Linked DNA regions of Homo sapiens: region 2 is linked to region 1. The links are contacts of gene promoters, found by promoter capture Hi-C in human tissues and cell types (Jung and others, 2019). All regions are on one chromosome and are shown on one strand. Each heading gives the region's core, a stretch centred on a gene start or on the middle of the fragment in contact. The rest is flanking DNA. Distances are from core to core; before and after follow the strand shown.

What was found. Contacts are between HindIII fragments. The study calls those that stand out against the background at their distance.
Region 2: a fragment that was not itself captured here is called in contact with the fragment with the promoter of IL1RL2 in region 1 in 6 of the 25 tissues and cell types used here (H1 embryonic stem cells, IMR-90 fibroblasts, aorta and 3 more).

The regions. Positions count from the first base shown.
Region 1 is chr2:102,184,182-102,188,802 of GRCh38, reverse strand. It overlaps IL1RL2 (interleukin 1 receptor like 2), which reads right to left and starts at 1,780. Exons shown (of 12, transcript NM_003854.4): 1 at 1,717-1,780; 2 at 878-947. The coding sequence starts at 935. RefSeq lists an enhancer at 1,595-2,124. The HindIII fragment of the contact is 7,879 bases long and covers 1-4,542 here.
Region 2 is chr2:102,105,918-102,110,847 of GRCh38, reverse strand. It overlaps a transcript of IL1R1 not described here. Among named protein-coding and RNA genes, the nearest start is that of IL1R1, 34 kb to the left of the region's middle. The HindIII fragment of the contact is 6,577 bases long and covers 1-4,930 here.

The DNA.
Region 1 (4,621 bases), core at 531-3,030:
GACCCTTAGTTCTTTTCATCCACAGAGTTCTTTACTCTGTACTCACCTACAGAGTAAATCAACCCTTCTTGTCTTTTCTGTTTCTGCTCTGCCACCCAGTTATTTTACTCTGTCTTGAGTAAAAGGTATTTCATCCCAAAACGATTGTTTAAGAAAAAAAATTTGGTTCACTTTTAAAGTTCATTTCTACCAAATTTCCTTTTTTTTTTTTTTTTGAGACGGAGTCTCTCTCTGTCGCCCAGGCTGGAGTGCAGAGGCTCAATCTCGGCTCACTGCAAGCTCCGCCTCCCGAGTTCACGCCATTCTCCTGCCTCAGCCTCTTGAGTAGCTGGGACTACAGGCGCCCGCCACCGCGCCCGGCTAATTTTTTTAATGTATTTTTAGTAGAGACGGGGTTTCACCGTGTTAGCCAGGATGGTCTAGATCTCCTGACCTCGTGATCCGCCCGCCTTGGCCTCCCAAAGTACTGGGATTACAGGCATGAGCCACTGCGCCCGGCCATACCAAATTTCTTAGAAGAAATTTGTTCTATTGACGGTTTCCTTGCTTTCACCTTGTGTCATAAAATAACGCTTTATCTTATAAAATAGCCTGTAGTAATTCCATTTGAGCATTGTTACTCAAGTCTTCACTTGGAATTTGCCTAACTCCTTCCCCTCCCCGAAGTCACCTCCAAGCTCAAAGGCGACATTCAGGGCTGAGCATCCGAGCACGTGGAGCTGGTTCTCTGTTTCCTCTTCCGCGGAACTCCGCCTGGCGGTCTGGGGAGGGGAAGGAGCCGCGCTCGGGCTGACGCGATCCCCGGGGGCTCCCAATGACAGGCCAGGAGCCTGTGGACTCGGGCAGCCTCTGGGAACGGAGGACACACGGAACGTACCTGCTGTGACAGACAGTGGAAGGGCGATGGACAACCCGCAGAGCAGCAAGGACCACATCCCCAAACCGGGCTGCAAGGAAGGGAGAAGAGGGTGGGAGGGGAGGACGCAGTAGGGCGGGCCCGAGGCGCCGGCGTGGGCGACCTCGGAATCTCAAAGACAACCGCCCAGGCCGCTGACCTTCCCTTTTTCCTGGGGAGCCCTCCGACTTTGGCCCCACGTTTCCCCAAAGACTGCCCTTCCCCTGTCTCCTTCGTCTGGGCGCCCGACCAGGATCCAGGGCAGGGAGCTCGCCCCGCCGCAGAGGAGGATGGGCGAGGAGTAGGCGGCGGCGGCGGTGGGGACCGCGTGGGAGCTGCTTCTGCCACCTGACAGCGAAGCAGGCTGGTGTCCAGAGCCCCCGTGAGGGCCAGGGCGCCCCCCAGCGCAGCCTGCGGCCTGGGTTCCAGACGTGGGACCCCAACCCCGCTCGCGGCGCACGGAGCCTCCCCTGCGCGCCTGTGTCCTCGGGATCCACCCGAGCCTGGCGGTCTAAACAGAAACCCCAAACACCCGCTCACTGGGGAGCAGCCAGGGCAGGCCTACCTGGCAAGGGCCAGCGGGAAAGGAGAAAGGAAGGCAGGGAGCCGCTGGAGCTGAAAATAGCCGCGAGCTCCACTCCTCGACCCAGAGACGGAGTCGGCTCCCCCATGGTCACCTAGCCGGTCGGGGGCCGGCCTGGGGGGCCTGATCCCTGGCCTGCGGTGGCACACATTGTTGCCACGTCTTTTCCTGCACACCTCTCCTACTGTCAGGGCCCCACCCATGCCTGGCTCAGCCAGACTCCCGGCCCGGTGTCTACCTGCCTGCAGGATTGAAGCGCGCAGGACCTCGTGGAGAGTGGAAAATATGACAGGGACACGAGCCCTGTCATGCCACTTCCATGCCTAGGTATTTCCCCGCCACCGTGGGCGGGGCAGACCTGCCTTCCCCAGTGGAGCGTAGGAAGGAATGTGACATCACACTAGGAAGTGGCTTGAAAGTCTTTGAGCCTGATTTTCTGGCATCTAAGTCCTTCATCACCAGGAGTGTCTGCTTAAGTCTATTCCAAGTTGAACGTCTAAATGAATTATTCATTCCTTTCCAAATCCTATTTGAGCAGTTACTGCATGCTCTGCATTGGCCTATGTGGAATGACCCCAAAGTGGAAGCCATCCCAAATGGCTTCTAAGGAGAATTATGAATCTGCCTGAGTCGTGCTCATTAACTTCTGTAAGGCAGGAATCCCATGGTGTTCAAGTACTTCAGAGCCTGAAGACTGTTCCTGTCTAAAACTTCCCGATAAGGTGATGTCAACAGGGACCTGTTGCCCTAGCCATCAGGAGACACCCCAGAGTCATCCCACAGGGCACTGAGTTGTAGGAAAAGGTTCAAAATGTAATCTCCATTCAATAGATTACTGGTCAAGCTCTTCCCAACGGTCTTTGAAAGATCAGAGACAGTGAGACAAAAGCAACCATAGGAGCAGAGATGCAATAATTGTGCTAATAGCAAAGCTTCCTGTGATAGGCTGAAGGTCAGTGGTTTGTAGATTTCTACACTCTTAAAAAGTATTGAGGATTCCAAAGTGCTTTTGTCTATGTAGGTTATGCCTGTCAATATTACTACATTAGAAGTTAAAGGGAGAATTTTTAAACGTTTACTTTCTTATTTAAGTGACAATAAACCCATTACATGTTAACGCAAATATCATACAATTTATGAAAAATAACTCTACTTTCTAAAACAGGCTTATTGAGAAAAGCGGCATTGTTCTACATAGATGCAGATCTCTTTGATGTCTGGCTTACTAGAAGATGACTGGATTCTCATACTTGCTTCTGCAATCAGTGTCATGATATAATATGTCATATAGCTTCTGAAAAGGTCCACCATACACTAATGAGAGAATGAGAATAAAAAAGGAATATAAGGTCTTAATATTACGATGAACATAGTTTTGATTTCACAGATCTTTTTGAAGGGTCTCTCAGGGACCCATAGGGCTCCCACTCTTTGAGGACCTCTTTCTTAAGCTATAAATAGAGATTATTATTTATTTCCCCTACTATCAGCAGTAAACGAGGTTCCTCTGTATATGTATATTCTTCAGCGTTTATGTCCTCATCCAAAACAAAACAAAAGTGTTACTATTTTTATAAAAGTCATATGATTTGCATTCAGAATTATTTCTATGAGCAGTGTTGAAAGGTATTTCTAAATCTTTATGCTATCTTTTTTCATTTTCACTTTATGAATAGATGCATTTGTGTCCTATCTTATTTCTTAGCCTGAGGACTAGTATATATGCCAAGTTTAATGGGTATTGTTGCCCCAAAATGTATGAAGTTAAGACAGGCCATCCCAGTCCCCTGCAGTGCCTCTCACTGGACACTTCTGACATTGCACTTTGCTACTAATTCTGAGAATCTGAAATTTAACTTCCTGGGATGGTCTCTATGCCAAATGTGTTTCCTGATACGTGGAAAATGAACACTTGGCTTTGAAGGCAGAACTGATTCCGGGTATTGTAAACTTAGCAATTAAAAATAACAGGAAACCATAATATTTACTGCAGGTTCTCAATTACCTTGAAAAAAAAAAACTTAAATGTATTCATCTCCTTCGAACATTTAAGTTTTTCCAAATTTATATTTTGCTCTTATAAACGGTGCTGCTGCAAAGATTCTGGTAATGTCCTTTTGTGCGAGTATTTCAGAGGCCATTTAGTGAACGGAATTGCAGAATCATTGGGTAGGTACATCCTCAATTGTATTAGAAAAGCCCTAATTTTTTTCCATAGCTATGTCCTTTAGAGGAAAAGAATTTCATTGCTTCATGTTCTTACCAATATTTGGTAATGTCAGACTTTTAAATTTTGCCAGTTTTGCTGCTCTGATGTAAAAGCTATCCTGTGATTTTATTTTATATACATTTAGATTGAGAGGTTATGCCCAGTTTTCAGAGGTGGCAGTTGTAAAGCCTCCATAACAGGGTGTATAATATGTAATAGATGCTTATCACCATCCCCCTACCAACCCCTCCTTGTCTAATTCTCTCCCACTTGCAGATATTTTTTCAATGGGAATATTCTTAATGTTTTCTAGCATTAGTCAGTGGCCATAGGAAATAATTTTCAGTTGGTTTTTTTTTTTATGAAGTAAATCAACTTCCTCTAGAGATTCATCACTTCATTCTGAGAGCAGGCAAAAAGCAACAAATCTGTGTGTGATGAAAGCATTACAGAATTCTGCTTGGTTGAATTTTACCTTCAGTCTATTTGACCCTCAGACTAGGATATGACGGCTATTCAGAAGGGTAGGAGGGCAACAATTTGGATTAAAGATTTCATATACAAATTTATATTTTACATGATGCATACTACCTTTTATTTGTTCTAACTAAATATCTGATTATTTCCCATTGGCCATATCCCACAGATAATGTTTCCCAATGAGAATGAAACAGAAATATATTCACACGCAACAATTAAACTTTCCAAAACCCAGTATTAGGCTGGGGTGGGTGTTTGGGGCTCCACCAAGATCTTTATACCTTTAAGGCCCTTAAGTTCTCATATTTCCCCTCTATGAGGCTTGGGAATATATAGCAGCATTTCTGTAGCAGACTGCTATTGTTGGGATGAAATGGACTTCTAGAAATGGAAGAAGCAGCCAGGGAGACTGGAAGGAGGTCCTTAAAGCACTTGGTTTCCTGCAGTCCTGGGC
Region 2 (4,930 bases), core at 1,506-4,005, 79 kb after region 1:
GCCAACTCCCGCGGCTGCCTAGCTGTTTCATGCAACCCTGGCAGGGTCCACGCATCCCTGTGCCATCCCATGACTGGACACACAGCAAGGCCTCAAAACACAATCACCAAATGAAAAACGTTGTGATCGCAAATGGTTTTAAGCCAATTGAATAGATGCCCAACCTGAGTCAACAAAGTACCTGTCAGACTGTTGTATTTGCCACGAGAGACCACAGTGGGGCTGACACTGCATGGTCATGATACGAGATAGGAAAATTTAGAAAACTTACTAAGTTTGCAGCTTTCTCCTTTGAGACTGCCGAAGTCTAATAAAAACCAGCTTGTTAGCAGGCACTGTTGACGAGCACATGGAGAGGCATTCTTTCAAACATTCCTGGTAGGGGTGTTAATTGGTATGACCTGGTGGGGTGGGGGGGTGGGTAATTCTGAAATATATATCAAAATCACAAGTGTACACAGCCTCTGACCCCACAATTCTGCTTCCAGGAATTTAACCAACAACTTGGAAACACTTCTGCAAAATTACGAGGGCAGGCTGCCACTGGTCGCAACATTGCCTGAAATAACAAAACATTGCAAACAATCCAACTGTCCATTAAGAGGCAGAAAATGCACCGCCTTTGATACAGCTATGGATCAAGGTATAGAATGGTGCACACTATGAGTGCAAAAGAGGTGGAAGAAAAAACTAGAAACTATTAACAAGACTCGCCTATTGGTGAGGAAGAGGGAAAGAAGCGTCTGCAGAAAGGGAAGAGAAAAAGACTTTCACCTTTTAAATTGTGTTACCACTCCAAAAGCAAATAAACCATGTGTCATTCACTCAAAAAAATTTAAAGAGTTTCAAAATCATATGGAAAAGTTTAACCAAAAAAAGTAAAATTCCATTTTAAATTATAGTCTTTTCCCTCATGTTATAACTGGAAACACTAAACAAAGAAAAGGGAGATAAGTCGCCCAGGAGAAACGAAGCCGCCCTTGGCCCCCAAGCTAGCACTCACCATACTCCATCTCATTCGCTGGAGTTCCTTGGTGCAGATTTGGGGGGTCAATAGAGAGGAAATATAAGGAAATATCTCTCAATATTTTAAACGCCCATCGAGTCTAGGTTGGTGTGATAAATTGGATGGTCCTGCCAGGGAGGATCTGGTCTGAAAAATCAAATCCATTTCACATTGGCCCATGTGGGTTCAGAGAAGCTGAGGCTGAGCCCTGCCTGATCCCCAAGTTGAGGGGTTGTTGTGGCTGAGTTTTCCAGGTTCAACACCTCCAAATGCAGTAGAACTGGACTCTTGGCACCTTTGGATGGAAGAACCAAATACATCAGCACTCAGTTGTCCAGGCCAGTGTGGCACATGGACTCAGAAGGCAGACAGACTTGGTGCAGGCTGATGGATCTCTCCTCACTAGCCTGCAGCTTTGGGAAACTTACTGAACTTCTCAGGGTCTCAGCTTGTCTGGACCTAGAGTTGGAATAATGTTTCAAGGTTGCGAGAAAGATTCAAGATATTATACTTAAAGAACCCAGAAGAGTGCATGTTCCTTTAGTAGGTGACTCAATAAATGGTAGTCATATACCCAAATAAACAGCACAAACATCACCAGTGGCCTAAAACCATGAGACATTGTCTCCAAAGTTCAGTCCGACCTACCCTCACTGACCCACAGGCTCCAGAGTGAGCCTGTCTGCGTCATAATTCCAGCTCTGCAATAACTACTGGTATAACCCTAGCAAATCACTCTCTGTGCTTCCGTTTCTTAATCTGCAAAATAAAATAATAGTACTGATTATTTTATATGAGCGGTACCTAAAACCAGGTCTCCTACCTAGCAAGTGCTGTATTACATATTAGCTTTTATTATTATTATTATTATTATTATTATTATTATTATTATTATTCAGTACCAAGTTCAAACCATTACTAAATGTCAGTTTGGTCCTGATTTTTGCAGCCCAGCACTGAGCTGGGAGTCAGAGTGAAAATCGATGCCTCCTTAAAGTTTTTGATATTCATGCCAAATCCATGACACTTGCACCTATAAAGACAGGGTTCTCCATTTTCCTGGTCCTATCCTTGGCTTGCATTCATTTGTTTAATATCCTTTCAGAGCTTTAAATATTTACTCAATAGAAACTGAGACTCACCCAAACTAAACGAAATAAATAACCAGTTGCCCCTAGAAAAGCTCCATTTAGGTTTTTTTTTAATCTTCTGGGGTGCCTTTTTGGAATATTCTTTTCTCCACAGAACTGGGTAAATATTTTTCTACCTCCCTTACATTGACTCATTTGAGAAACATTGATTGATCCGCCCTCTGGGTGTCAGACCCCAAAGCAGGCCCTGGAGAGAGGTATACACATGAAACCGGACCCCGTCTTTGAGGAGCTCTCAGTCCACTGGGGAGCTGAGCAAAGCCCATGGATGATGAGAATGCAATAGGAGGAGGATGGCTGGTTTTCCTGTACAAGAATGGAATAAATAAGCAACAAAATGGAAATCTTTTTAATCTAAAATGTATCCATGCACTGCTGTAACACACTAAACACTGCTACTGAATCTAAGAACCAAGAAGCATAGAAATATGTTATACACACCCCCCCCCACACACACACACATACATACACACACACACACACTTCCCAAGTTTAGAATTAGAAGACGACAAAATTTCAGCATGCAGCTCTCCAGAAACTATATATTTTAGAAGGTTAGATTTATCACTAAACTTTAGAGTAACAACAATAATAATAATACCATTTTGCATTTTTGCTTTTCCTCTATTCAAAAAGCTTGCCTCTATCTTGCCTCTTTATATTCCCAGTACAATCTTGTGAGGTGGCTAGCACAGGCCTTCTGTCTAAATTTTATAGCTAAAAAGGAGACAAAATCACAAAGACTGAGGTTTACCCCAGGTTACTCAATCGGTAAAAATTCAGAGCAAAAGCATCCAGTTCTCTCGCTCTCTCAGCAGACTTTCTGAGAGACATCAAAAGAGGTCAAAGTCCTCAGAAATTAGGTTGGCAGAAGTTACTGTAAGAGGTGACTGCTTTGGCAATGAGTAACCAAAAAAGACGAGAGGCTGAACCCAAAGGGGCAGAACTGGAAACCAGCAGATTTTGCAAAGGGTTTCCTTAAGGTAAATTAAGACAACAAAATATACCTTTGCCTATTATCAGAGTAGCACACTTTTCTTTTATTTATTGTGATACTTTAAGTTCTAGGGTACATGTGCACAACATGCAGGTTTGTTACATATGTATACATGTGCCATGTTGGTGTGCTGCACCTGTTAACTTGTCATTTACATTAGGTATGTCTCCTAATGTTATCCCTCCCCCCTCCTCCCACCCCACAACAGGCCCCGGTGTGTGATGTTCCCCACCCTGTGTCCAAGTGTTCTCATTGTTCAATTCCCACCTACGAGTGAGAATATGCGGCGTTTGGTTTTCTGTCCTTGTGATAGTTTGCTCAGGATGATGGTTTCCAGCTTCATCCATGTCCCTACAAAGGACATGAACTCATCCTTTTTCATGGCTGCATAGTATTCCATGGTGTATATGTGCCACATTTTCTTAATCCAGTCTATCACTGATGGACATTTGGGTTGGTTCCAAGTCTTTGCTATTGTGAATAGTGCCACAATAAACATACGTGTGCATGCAGAGTAGCACACTTTTCAAAAAATTATAAAACCCAATGCTGATGAGAGAGTTGGAAAATGTTCATACAGTGCTGGTGGGCACATAAATTAATTAAACTTTCCTAGGATTAATTTAGCAGCAGGGATCTAGAGTTTTTAAAATGCCCATGCCCTTTGACCCCTACCATTCTACCTCTGGGGATTTATCTCAAGGAAAACTCGTTGAGATAACCTTTGCATCAAGGAGATGCAAAGGTTTAGCTACAAGGGTGTTAGTTGTAGTACTGTTAATAAGAGAAGAACATAGTTGTAGTACTGTTAATAAGAGAAAAACAATCAACTACCTGCCAACAGGATTTAATAAACTATCTATGCAATGAAATGGAAAAGCTTTTGTAAAAGAAAACTCATTCTCATAACAAGATGCTCCATCGCTGTGAGGTAAAAGCAGATAACCGAAAAGCATGTAGAGTACAAATATATTTCTTCAAAATGTAAATGTACTCAGAGACAAATACACCTACCAAAATGTTAACAGTGTTTACCTCACAGTGGTGTGTTTTTACTTCTCGTCTTTTACTATTATCTCTATGTATTTTTTAAAATTTTATTCTTGACAATGAGCTTGTGCTGTTTGTGTAAATGTTCCAAGGACGTATTTTAGAAGTATACCCTCGCTATTCTTTGACCGTTCCTGCCAAGTTTTCCTCCTAAGTAAACTAACAGTCTTGTGCTCAACGGGGTTTGTCAGTTCAATGATTAACAATAGCATGTAGTGTTAGGAAAGGCCATAAGAATCTTTTTAAACTCATCACTACCATTAGGCAGATCAAATTCATCTCAAGAAGTTTTCTTGGCTCTTTCTGGACAACTTTGTCTTCTTCCTTTTCCTAACAGATCAACACATTTATAGTAAACACCAATCTCTGGCATCAAATGCACACACACACAGACACACACACACAGAGACACACACGTCACTGTTCTCCAGCTGTCTCATGGGTGAATGCCATGACTCACCAAACCAGTTGGTCCTTAGCTGTATTTTTTGAAGCATCCTTCCCCACCATCCACTCCTCACACCCTCACCAACACAGCGAAAAATTCACATTTTGCATGAGCAATAAGGAGTTATAAATTGAATTGAATGATAAGCTTCATTAGGTTTTCCTTTTTGTTTTGTTATTTTCTTTCCTTAATCTTTCAGGTTCAGTCCCATTTTCTCATTCTTATGCACAACAACACTATCAGTAGGAATTATGAGGATCAAGGATAAATGGAGATCA